2 separate regions of the Homo sapiens genome follow, and region 1 is linked to region 2. The links are contacts of gene promoters, found by promoter capture Hi-C in human tissues and cell types (Jung and others, 2019). All regions are on one chromosome and are shown on one strand. The core of a region is centred on a gene start or on the middle of the fragment in contact, and the rest is flanking DNA. Distances in the headings are between cores, read along the strand shown.

Region 1 (6,680 bases), core at 174-2,673, 1.1 Mb before region 2:
CATTCAATAAATCTTTGATGAATAAAGGCAGGATCCACTGACTACTTTAAGGGAAGTGAGATGATCAAGTTTGCTTTTGTAAATATTTGTCTAAGTTATTAAAGCAGCCCATATTAGTGATAACCAATGAAAATGACACCAAAGAGCCTCCCAAGAAATGACTTCTCCAGATCTCATTCCTCGGGGGTAACTGCTGTTTTCAGTTTGGGATGAATCATTTCAGAATTAAAACAATAACAACACAACCAGCACCAATCCAATTCCATATACAGGGAAGCATTTTTTAAAGAATAAATATAGATATCCGTGCATACATGCATAACATTATACTATATATACCATCTTGTAACTTGCTTTTGTCTATAAACATATCAAGAATCGGGAATATTTTTCTGTAATAGATACTATTTGTAAATAGATACTATCTGCTTTTTTAAGCTTGCATCTTATTCAACTTAGCGAATGCACCATAATATATATTTTTTTCTTTTTTCTTTTGAGACAGGGTCTCACTGTCACCCAGGCAGGAGTGCAGTGGAGCAATCAGGTGTCACTGCAGCTTTGACCTCCCAGGTTCGAGTGATCTTCAACCTGCCCAGTAGCTGGGACCACAGGTGCATGCCATCATGCCTGGCTAATTTTTGTATTTTTTGATAGAGATGGGGTCTCCCTATGTTGCCCAGCCTGGCCTTGAACTCCCGGGTTCAAGCAATCCTCCCACCTTGGCCTCCCAAAGTGCTGGGATTATAGGCATGAGCCACCATGACCAACCACATTTTCTTTTAAAATGAACGTCTTATTTTGGAATAATTTTAGATTTACAGAAATGTTGTGAATATAGCACAGAGTTCCCCTAATGTTGCCATAACCATGGGACATTTGTCAAAACTAAACATGCACGTTGGTATATCATTATTAACGAAATCTTTTGCTTGCGTTTCACCAGTTTTCTCACTAAGGCCCTTTTTCTGTTCCAGGACCTAGTCCAGGCATTGAGTTTCTCCCTGCAGCCCTGATTTAGCAATTCCCACATGGTGGACACTTGGTGTTTTGCACTTTTGCTGTGCCATGAGGCTGCAGTCCGCACCTCGTGGCCTCTCTCCCTGCTCACCTGCACACATCCTTCCCTCCCACAGGTGCATCCTTCCCTCCCACAGATGGGCCAGAGTGGAGGGCAGTGCGAGGTTATGCAGGCACAGGAGGCTGCTCCCAGAGGAGGGAGGCGTGGCAGTTGTCTACCTTACCTCCACCTTGTTTCTGTGATTTGCACTTTAGCAAGCTCACTCTGGCTCCTGGGGCTGAGACTTGGAGGGAGAAGGCTGGTCTAGAGGCTTCAGTGGAGGGACAGAGGCAAGGGGACAGACATTAGAGAGCTTTAGACAAGACTCCTGTCTGGTTGGGTGTGGAGTTGAGTGAGGGGAATGATGAAGGACTTCAGCTTTGTTATTTAGGCAAAGGAAGTCATGGGGCCCTTCAGGGAGGCAGCAGGAACAGGGGAGGAGGTTCATCAAGAGGCTGAGGGATCCAGTTGTGGCTCCGATGTTTGGGTGCCCTTGGGATACCCGGGAGGCAGGAGTCATAGATTTGGAGCGTCCCGAGTGGCCAGACGAGAGCCGAAGCCATGGATGGGGATGTGACGCCCTTCCTTCTAGATTGGATCTACCGAATTAAAGACACACACAAGCTCAAGCACACGTGCACACACAAAGCTTGTTTTTTAAAATCCAGCAGAAATTGTGCGGACACACACAGCTGGAGGGTGATTTAGCTACAGAACACAGAGACCTGGAAAACCCAGCAGGAGGAGCTGAGCCTGCCGTGGATGCCCTGGTGGAAGAGCTGTGAAGAAGCGTTACATCCAGGCTAGTGGCACCAGCAGGTAGCTGAAGGGGATGTGTGATGCAGGTCTGTGGCCGACACCCGGCCATCCTGCTCTTTCTGCTGCGCTGAGCTAGACAACAGTCTGTCCCACTCCAGGCACGTTGCCTTTCCCCGGTGCCCCTTACATGGATCTCTGGGCCGCCTGGGTCTAGCCTGTCCCCAACTTGCCATCACCCCTCACTCCTCCACCTGCCATTCCGCACAGGAGGAAACTGAGCCACTGCCCCGCTTCTGAGAACTCCTCAGCTATCCTTAACTCTCCCACAGCCTCCCCTCTGAGGATGAGTGTCTTCACCTGCAGAGCCTGCAGCGGGGGACAAGATTAAGGTTAAGGTCCTTCCTTGAGTCAGAGTAGCATGGGCAATGAAGGAACCATGGGCAGGCAGATCTGGTTCCAATCTTACGTCAGATCTGATCAGCTATGTGACTTTAAGTCAGTTATTTAACCTCTCTGAGATATACATCTCTCTCTCCCTCTCTCTTTCTAGTGGGGACGATAATTCCCAGCTTGCAGGGGTTTTCTGGGAAGCTGAGAACATGGATGTGAAGTATCTAGTACATCACTGGGACTAACTAAACAGCAGCTGTAATTACAATTATTATAGGAATTCTGAGCTATTTCAACTCCACAGTTAAAGGGAGATATTTTCAAAGTTCCAAGCCATGTAAGGTAAATCAGGGACAGTTCACACTGCCACTGTCCCCCAGAGTGAATTATTCACCCTGAAAAGTGTGTTCAATAGAGATTATTAACTTGCAGAGGGGAATAAGTTTCAAAGAATGGCAAAAGCACGTCTAATCTTAATTAGGTGCCATTTTTCTCTGTCCACCTAGAAAAAAACTAGTTCCTGGATTTGCAGGAGCTGGGGTCCATTGCAAAGGGGAAAACAATAGCTTAGAGGATTCCTGCACGTTAGGATAAAGGAGAGACTATCCATGGGGGAGGACCACATGGAAAAACACTGCTCTGTCCAGGGGTGAGTGAGTGTCACAGCCTCCTCCCATGTCACAACGCACAGTGCTGCCTCTACTTGGGACATCAGTGTGTTTCAGAAGCCATCAGATTCTCTGTGAAGTGCACAGTTTACAAGCCCTATGTTCCCGCCAACTGGCACCCTGAGACAGTGGCTTTGTGCCCTGAGCCTGGGCTGCAGTGGAATGAAAGTTCATTGCACATTGAGCTGCTGGAACAGAAGGTGGTTTGCTCAACATGGTACAGCTCCGACCGTGAGCTGATGGAAGCCTGTTCTTGAGGGAGGCTTCTGTCCCCTTCCCCTATTCAGAGCAGCCCCTGCGCTTTCACACAGGAGTTCAGCTGAGGAGTATCCCGAACTCAGAGGACCCCTCTGTGTTCCAGTCAAGCCTCTGCCATCACCTGCTATGTGTCTTTGGGAAAGTCCCTCAACTTCTCTGTGACTCAGTTTCTTCACCTGTAAAACAGGGATGACAAGTGTATTTGCACCATCTACCCGTTAAAGAGAATAATGGACGTAAAGGTGCCATGTGCCCACATAATTCATCGTGATTGTCATTCTCTTGTTCTACTTGTGCCCCCCACCCCAAGACTTCCTGCCCAAGAATGTACCATGGAAAATCCAGGCACTGTGGCCTCACAGAATGTGCTGGAAGAGGGTGTTTTGGTGAGGAGGTGGTGTCCCCCATGGAATGCAGCTGAGAGAGTAAGTAAGCGGAGGCCAAGCACCCCTATGAGCCCTGACTGAGGCCTCTTCATGGGGCACCTCCCGAGGCTCTGGTCACGCACCACCCACCTCGCTCAGGATCCTACGCCCTCCACTTCTTACCAGGGCGCCCACTCCAGAAGTTCAGTGTAAGTCATTACTCTCCCAATGTAAGGCTTTCAATGCACCCCATAAAGAGGGGCCCAGGTGCTGGCTCTTTCCACCCCTGCTCCCGTCCCACTCCAACCCATCCCTCCTGGCTTTGGCCATCACTGTCCCACCGCAACCTCAGGGCCACCATGTTCGTGGTCCCCATCTGTCCTCAGCAACACTCAACTCCTGGACTGCCCCCTTCTTCCCGTGGCCCCCGGCTCCCACTGTTCCCCACCCTCCTTCCCAGGCTCCATGGCCAGGTGGCCCCTCTGCCCATCCTGAGCCTCTGCTCTCTGGTTGGCCACCCCAGCACGTGACTCACCTGGGCTAAATGCCCTTCAGCCGCATCTCTCCCTGAGTACTGTGCGTGGCCATCAGCTCCTTCTTGTCACCTCTCTGGACTCTCAGTGGGCATCTCAGGTTCAAATAAAAGTCCCCACTCCCTCTCCCCCAAGCAGCCCCTCCCCTGTCCTCTATCTGGTTGTCTACAGCAAAGCCCTGGGCAGCAGTCATGGCTCCCACGTCAGTCCACCCCATTTCTCATGGGACCACCTTCAGATTTCTGAGCACTTGCCCAGCCTCCTTCAACCTCCTCAGGAGGTCACCCTGCACTTCTGCAAGCCAGGCTCTGCCTTTCCTCCTGCAGGAGAGCTCTGTGTGTCCTTTGGCCATCACCTTAGAGCCCGCAGCACATCCAAGCTTATCCACTCACATCTTCTTTCCACCCTTAAGAACAGAAGCGGCACGGAGCAGAGACCAGCCTAGGACCCGAGCCCTGGGCACAGGGCCTGCCGCATCGGGCATGGATGACGGGTGTGGGATTCCACCCCCCGTAAGGCCCGCCCCAGCTCTCTGTCACCTCCCCCAAGACCCAGGCTCTAACTCAGAGATCTCTGAAAATAGGACAATGATTCCTTGTGTTGTGGCCTCTGTTCATTCCACTCTCTGCCTCTAATACTCTTCGGTCTTTCTGTTCTGTTTGGTCAGCTGCGGGTCCCTCTTCAAGCAGCAACTCACAGGTCCATCTCTTCGGGGTGCCCTCCAGGCCTCCCAGGGAGGGGACTGCATTGCTGGGTCCCTTCTCAGGGACCCTCATTCCATCCTCACCACCCTGGCCTCATCCCTCATCTCTCCCTGCTGTGGCAGAACACTTCTGCCTCCCTTCTCTCCGACAGAAGACGAAGCTTCTATACTTGCTTCCAATGGCTTCTTGAAAAGCGGCATGGCCCAGTCCATCAGGCTTGTGAAAGGAAAATAAATCTCGGGGCCCCAGATCACTAAGCTAAAGGGAAAAGTTGAGCTGGGAACTGCTTAGGGTCAACCTGCCTCCCATTCTATTCAAAGTCACCCCTCTGCTCACTGAGATAAATGCATATCTGATTGCCTCCTTTGGAGAGGCTCATCAGAAACTCAAAAGAATGCAACCTTTTGTCTCTTATCTACCTAAGCCCCTCCCTGCTTCCCTCCCACCATTGCATCGAGTTGTCCTGCCTTTCCAGACTGAACCAATGTTCCTCTCACACGTGTTGATTGATGTCTTCTGTCTCCCTAGAATGTATAAAACCAAACTGTCCTCTGACCACCTTGGGCACATGTCTTCAAGACCTCCTGAGGCTGTATTCTTGGCATATAAAGGTGTAAACCAGAAAGTATCTGAGACGGGTCTCAATTAATTTAGAAATTTATTTTGCCAAGATTAAGGACATGCCCCAGAGAGAAGTCTGTGCCTTTCTCCAAAGATGATTTTGAGGGCTTCCATATTTAAAGGGGAAAAGTGAACTGGAGGAGAAAGAGGGAGGGTGTAGTTACTGAATCCACATGTTACAAGGGAAAAGCAGCAGGTAGGGGAGTAGTCAATCATGTATTCGCCTGGCACTCAGTAAATCAGCACTTTACATAAGATAAGGTGAACACTGGATTAGCTACCTGGAGAGATACTTAACCTTTTCTCTGTAGCTCTCTGCTTAGGAACAAAAGGAAAGGTAGCTTCTTGCATGACTCAGCTTGCAGCCTAATTTCTTTCTTTTGGCCAAGTGAATTGGGGTCCTGAGTTTTTATTTTCCTTTCACAAAGGGGAGCTTTAGAAGATCCTTCTCTTGCCCAAAACATAAAAATAAAAAGTTGGCTTTCAAGACTATGTTCTTACTCCAGATCAGGGGCTCTCAGCTGGGATGATTCTGCCTGCCAGGGGGCATTGGGTGGTGTCTGGAGACATTTTTAATCATCTGGACTTGGAGGCCGAGGAGTGGCCCCTCTATCTGAATGTGGGTAGAGGCCAAGGATGCTGCTGATGCCCTACAGGATCTTACCTCAAATGTCCACAGTGTCCAGGCTGAGCAACTCTGCCCTAGGCCTAACAAATCCTACTTTGCATGCAAAAACCAAGCCCCAAGTCTTTTCTCTTGATGTTCCTCCTGAAGCAATGCTAATTGCCCCTGAGGCAAAGGACACCTTGGCTGAATAGAAGGGACTCAAGAAAATGCATGCTTTTAAATACAGCCTTTACAAATGTCACCAAGGAGAGGTCCTTAGCACTGTGGGACTATATTGAGGGCCCCTGACATCATCTGGGTCTCCTCAGGGGAGATTGAGATTTGAAATACAAGGGAAGAGGAGTTCTGAGCAAAAGGACATACAGACCCAGAAGTTGGGCTGTGATATGGTTTGGCTGTGTCCCCACCCGTATCTCATCTTGAATTATAGCTCCCACAGGTCATGGGAGGGACCCAATGGGAGGTAATTAAATCATGGGGGCAGGTTTTCCAATGCTGTTCTCATGATAGTGAATAAGTCTCATGAGATCTGATGGTTTTATAAAGGGCAGTTCCCCTGCACACATTCTCTTGCCTGCCACCATGTAAGATATGCCTTTGCTCCTCCTTTGCCTTCTGCCATGATTGTGAGGCCTCCCCAGCCATGTGGAACTGTGAGTCCAATAAATCTCTTTTTCTTTATAAATTACCCAGT
Region 2 (6,178 bases), core at 2,561-5,060:
GGCAAAGAAGGGAGGCAGTGCAGCTGCAGGTGGGCTGCCCTGTTCTTCTCAAGATCTACAGAGACAGACATCTGAGCCATGTCGAATGGGCCCTGCTGCAAAGCTGGGGACTGGTTAATTTTCAAAGGGTACAGTGTCATGACAGCAGCAGTTTCTGGACCTGCGGAAGCTTCCAGATCCTGCAAAGCTAGAATGGGTGCACAGCTTAAGCCCCTCCCCACCACCTCAGCTGTGACCACTGGTTAACATGTAGCATGCAGCACTTGGTGCTAATCAGATGGAGTCATGCCTCTGCTGACAACCCTCCATGGCAGGTGTCCCACAGCCCTTAGGACCAAAGTTAAACTCCTCACTGGGCTGCAAGACCTGCCTGGCCAGGGCCTTGCCCAGCTCTGCCCGCTTTGTGCCATCTCCACACTCTCTCCCCTTGAATGTCTCCTGCCACAGGCTTCTGCACATGCTGCTGCCACCCCCCTGGAGCTGTGGGGCCAGGAGCAGCCACCAGGGAAATCTGATCCTTGACCCTGGGCTCCTGAGTCTGCCAGAGGCTGCCGTATCAGCCAACAGACAGCTTCTGCAACAGACAACCGAACCCCGGGGGTACCCAGGGCCAGGTGCTGATGGACTGGGACTCGGGAGAGTTCTCACTCCCTGCCGGGGACCTTGGCCACATGCTGCCATTCCTGGCCCTTCGTTCCTCATCTGTAAGATGAGCATAAGCACAGCTGCCTTGTGGGACTCTTGTAGATTCTGTCCCCTAGTATGACAATACTTTGTTACCTTGGACCCATGGGGTTTTGCTGTCAGTACCAGGATGGCAACTAAGGACATGCCCATGGTTGGCCCTCACCGACGAGGTCCAGCCTTGGGTCGCCAAGCAGCCGCCTGCTCGCTGCCAGTGAGCCCTCCCTTTCTCAGCCCACGGCCCCTGCCCCGGTGGACTTCCACCACCTGACCTGCAGGCACGCTTCCAGGAGCTCAGAGGCCACTGCCCTGGCGGATGACACCCTGGAAGCACACACTCCCCCTTGACAGAGAGCTTTGCACATCAGCAGAGGGCAAGCCAGCAGCAAACTTCGCAGGCCCTGGCTGGCAAACAGACTCCAGCCTGGACCCCAGGCCCATAGGAGAAGCTTCACCCTGGCAGGGTCAGGGAAAGCACTGGGGTCCCTGAACACAGATGACCGTCATCACCTGCTCCCAGCACTCAGGGTCTAACTGCTGCCCTGTACTGAGCGGCCAAGCCCTATCACTCCAGGTTGCCTCCTCCAGCAACCCCTTCCCGTCTGAATTCCCAGCTTCCCAATTCTTTCCCTGAGGCTGTGGGAGAGCCTCGGCTTCTCTGGCTGGCTGGCAGGTCAGCACTTGCAGGAGAGAGCAGCTCAGCAGGGCAGACGTGGGCTTTACAGACCTGCCTTCCGTCCTGCGCCCTGCCGCTGGCCTGGGGGACCCAGTGCAGATGGGGCTTCTCTGTGCCTCAGTCTCCATCTTGCAATGTGGGCACAGTAATAATTACCCTCAGAACATCTTCCGGATCAGAAAATGTAAAAAGGGACCTGAGACAGCATTGTCACCACATAAATGGTAGCTATGAACTAAGATCCATATGCACCAGATGCTCCCAGTAGTCACTAAGGCGCCAGAGAGGAAACTCAGGTGGTGCTCAGAGACATTTTCAGGAGCACTGATTTGTCCTCAAAGTTACAGATTTCTACTCAGTCCCTGCGCCAGCGGTGTTTCTGTTCTGTCGTGTGGCCCTCATTTCATCAGCACTGAAGAAGGTAAAGAGAGACTTCCTGGAGCTGGGAATGGGGGTGAGGGTGTGCCCTTTGTGACAGTTGCTCCCATGCTGGGTGTGTGACAAGGTCTTCGTGGCCAACAGAAAATTGCTTCATCTCTCTCATCTGAGCGTGGTTTCCCAGAAGAAACCTACCACCCCCGGGAAGCATGGATATGGGGCTGTTTCTGGCCAGGATACTCCCAAGAGAAGAGTCCTGAACTTGCTTCTACCCTCAGGACGCCTGCGGGAGACTGGCTGACAGCATTTGATTGAAAATGCTTATTTCTGGGACACATGGATGAAAAACAAGTTTTCTCTCCCTAAAACCTTGGGAGCCCCAAAAAACCCAAGAATATCACTTTCCTATGTCTGCTGAGTGTACGTGACCACTCTGCACACCCCCACATAGCCTTTGTCCTTGTTCATGAGAATGTTCACTAGGTCTTTCAACACCTGGTTGACCTGGGTGGTGCATCTGGGTCACACACCTGTGTGGACCCTGGTCCTTGAGAGTCTGGGATATGGGTATGCCAGGTAATGTCTTTGAGCCCGGAGGTCCTCATGAGGATGTAGCCCCTGAGCTCTGCGTGGGCAGCCCAGGGTCAGCTTCCCTCACCAAACACAACAGGATGACAAGCTTGGATGTGGCTGCCTGCACACCCCACGAGATATGCAGGATATTACGTGTACAGGTCACCCTATAAACTCTGAAACAACATAAATGATAGCTATTGCTGGCTAACATGTGCAAGAGAAGGTGAGGTTGCCGTGTGCCAGTGGGAAGGATATGTGGGTGTCTGGAGGGTGGGGCAAAGTTCACCATAGGTGCCTGGCTAATCAACAAGGGTGAGTTTAAGAGAAGTTTGTGAAAGGGCCAGTTCCCGCCTGATCTCCAGTTCCCCTGCCTAATGAGATCTGGGTTTGCTTTCCGGAGTGGGTCCTCCTGGGCGCCCGCTGCCACAAATAGCACAGTGGCAGGCACAGCTGGCAGCGGAGGGCAGGCAGTGGAGCGGGCATAGCACACATTGCGTTCCCGAGGAGGGGAGCCCTGATGTGCCGGCACCCAGGGGCTTTGTGCATTCCGCTCCGGCAGCTCGAGCGTCACGGCCCGAACAAAGCGGCTTTGCAGGGCGCTCTCCTACTCCTCGCCATTGGCCACCGGGCCGCGACCTCTCCTTGCTCTGGCAGAGTCCCAGCGCCTTGCGTAGGCACAAAGTCAGCCCCTCACCCCCCAGCGCATGAAGTAGGGGCGGGCATGGCTCTTGGGCCGCTGGAGAGGGGTGGGGTTGTGGGGTCGGAGCTGGCGGCGCCTCCCCGAGCCCGTCCGCGTTGCCCTTCACCCTCCTCGTTCCCCCGCCCACCACACCGCCCTGGCACCTCCCGCCACCTGTTTCCTTGTCCTCCCAGCTCGCCTTCCCCTTCTCCTTATTTTGCATCCTGGGGTTCCAGGGACAAGGTCCCTCCCGGGCCGCCTCCCACCCTACGCACTTCTGAGCCTCAAGGGCACCCGGTCCCGGGTCCCGGGTCTAGACCGGCTCATCGCACAGAGTAGCAGAGCCGGGCTCATCGAGGAGGCAGGAGGGGCTCGCCAGCGTGGCACGGGCGCCCGGCGGGAACCTCCACCCGCCCCGCGGCCGCGCGTCCCCGCCTCGAATTCAGCCCCGCCCCGGTGCGCCGGGCTGGAGGGGCGCTGACGCTCAGCGGTGTCCCATCGGTGACCTTGGACGGTCCCTCCACCTCTCCGGCCTCAGTTTCCCTTGGCTGCAGCGGCCGCGGGGCGCTAGGTGGGAGCCGCTGAGCGCTCCCGGGGCCCCGCCCACCGCGAGCAGCCAATCGGGCGCCGCCCTCCGGGGGGTGTGTCCCGGGGCCGAGGCCCGGGGCCCGGAGGGCGCGCGGGGCGGGCGGGGCTTCCGGGTCGGGCCTCGGGACACTGGCTCGCGCGGACCGGGGCAGGGGGCGGGCCGAGGGGCGGTGCGTGTCGCGGGGGCGCGGCTGGCACGGACGCGCGGAGGCGGCGCCGGGCATGGGCCGTGGACGCGGCGGCCCCGCGGCGGGGGCAGCGGGCGGCGGGGGCGGAGGCGGCCGCTAGCGCCCTGCCCGGCGCCGCCTCCTTCGGCGTTCGCCCCACGGACCGGCAGGCGGCGGACCGCGGCCCAGGTGCCCGGGGGCGGGCGGGCGGGCGGGCGGGAACGCGCGCGGGGGTCCGCGGTCCGGGCTTCCCAGGTCCCGGGACCCGGAGGGCGGCGGACGGGGGAGGGGCAGGGGCTGGGCGGCGCATGCGCGGGGCCCGGGGTCTCGGGGTCTCCGGGTCCCGGGGACCCGGGGGCCCGGGGTGCGCGGCTGGGGACCTGAGGGCGAGGAGCGAGGACACACACCGAGGACTCTTGCGAGGGATCTCGGGGCCCAGCTCGGCCTCCCTCCTAGCGCTGGGGGCCTGCCCGGAACCCGAGTCCGCGGCTGTCCCTGGGGTTTGGCGCTGCGCGGAGGTCGGGTCTGGGGACCGCAGCGACTCTGGGTCTTCGGGTTGTCCCCTCGGAGGGAGGGCCCACGGGCGGGGACATCGGGACTTGCCCTTTCCTCGGCGCAGCGGAGCTGGGGCGTCGCCGACTCAGAAGGTGCTTTCCGAGACCTCCAGGGATCTCCGAGGCGAGGAAACCCGGGCCCCGGACAGACCGACCCTGGGTGGGTGCGCCCGGCTTCTGCCGTCGGACGGAGACGCGCGTGTTTGTTCCTCCAGCTGCGACCACCTTTGAGGAACGGTTCCCACTTTGTGCCCCAACGCGGCGGGGCGACCCCGGACAGGCTGCGCTGGGCCGGGTGGCTTCTCTGCGGAAGCCGCGCCACGTCGCTCCCGGTCGGGGCCGCTGAGGGTCGGGCGCCCAGGTCTTTCCGGAGTCCCGGGCTGCGCGGCCCGCGTGGTGCGGGTGAAGCTGGAGGGGCGCGGGGTGGTGCCAGTGGAAGTCAGGAGGGTCGGCCCTGCCCCCTCACGCACCCCAACCGGGCACAACTGCACGCCTGTGCTTTTCTGAAGTCTTTTTTAAAAGTTAAAAGAGAGGAAGTGTGCTCCAAGTGTCAGGATTCTTTCCAAGAAAAACCCACAGTTGTCCAATGGCCTGGGCTTCGTGGGACCTCCGGGGCTGCACGCCCACGTCAGCCTCAGCCGACCCCTGCCAGGAAACCAGGGAGGCCCCTCCTCTCCCAGCCTCCTTGGGATAAGGGTGCCTTGGGGAACTGGGTCAGGGCAAGGACACGGGATTTTCCTGGGAAGGACCCTGCGACACCCGTGTCGTTGCGGGGCAGGGTCAGCATGACTTTCCTCTTCCAAGGTGAAGAGTTGGGGGGCATCCAGAGAACAACCGTAATCACTTCCTCCTTCACCTTCTTACTGCCAGGCTGAAGCTCAGGGCCCTGTCTGCTCTGTGGACTCAACAGTTTGTGGCAAGACAAGCTCAGAACTGAGAAGCTGTCACCACAGGTAAATAGAAGGTTTAATTTACTGTTTCCAGATGGAAATATTTAAGTGTTTTCAGTGTTTACTTCTGTTGCACTACAGACCAGCAATCTGGGGGTTATTACTTTGTGATGCAAGGTTAGATACGTTTTCAGACTGAAAGTAAAATACATGTGCATGGATTCATTTTTTTTTTTTTTTTTTTTTTTTGAGACGGAGTCTCGCTCTGCCGCCCAGGCTGGAGTGCAGTGGCCTAATCTCAGATCACAGCAACCTCTGCCACTGGGGTTCAAGCGATTCTCTTGCCTCAGCCTCCCGAGTAGCTGGGATTACAGGCGCCTGCCACCATGCCCAGCTAATTTTTGTAGTTTTAGTAGAGGCGGGGTTTCACCATCTTGGCCAGGCTGATCTTGAACTCCTGACCTCATGATCCACCTGTTCCTCCCAAAGTGCTGGGATTACAGACGTGAGCCACCGTGCCTGGCCTAGGATTCACTTTGAAGTTCTGAGTTATTGTGTGACTTTTGCTAGGAACTTCATTGCTTCGTGGCAGGCATGTTTTGTATAATTTAAAACTTGATGACATTAACTTTGAGAAACGTGAGTGCTTACTAGACCCTTGGGATGTCCACACTGACTGGTACCGAGTAGTGTACTGTCTCTGAGCTGTTTTCATTTTGATTTGAATATTAAGCAGATGGCTTCTTGAGATAGACCCGTGCCAGAACATGCCAGGGATAGGCTGAAGAAACGGGCCAGATGATACAAATTTGTGTGGTCACCATCCATGAGAGACCAGGGACACTGGGGCTGATGATGACCTCTGCAACTCTGAAGCAAAAGTAAACTAATTGGCAAGTTGGGTGCGGTGGCTCACTCCTGTAATCCCAGCACTTTGGAAGCTGGGGTGGGCAGATCGCTTGAGGCCAGGAGTTCGAGACCAGCCT

What was found. Contacts are between HindIII fragments. The study calls those that stand out against the background at their distance.
Region 1: a fragment that was not itself captured here is called in contact with the fragment with the promoter of PPARA in region 2 in 1 of the 25 tissues and cell types used here (dorsolateral prefrontal cortex).

Annotation. Positions count from the first base shown.
Region 1 is chr22:45,047,658-45,054,337 of GRCh38, forward strand. No RefSeq gene overlaps it. Among named protein-coding and RNA genes, the nearest start is that of PHF21B, 41 kb to the left of the region's middle. RefSeq lists enhancers at 1,903-2,476, 4,275-5,078, 5,079-5,883, 5,884-6,680. The HindIII fragment of the contact is 3,274 bases long and covers 1-3,060 here.
Region 2 is chr22:46,146,716-46,152,893 of GRCh38, forward strand. PPARA (peroxisome proliferator activated receptor alpha) reads left to right here and starts at 3,811. Exons shown (of 9, transcript NM_005036.6): 1 at 3,811-3,937; 2 at 5,173-5,255. RefSeq lists silencers at 3,272-3,881, 4,032-4,151 and an enhancer at 4,362-4,551. The HindIII fragment of the contact is 15,597 bases long and covers 1,776-6,178 here.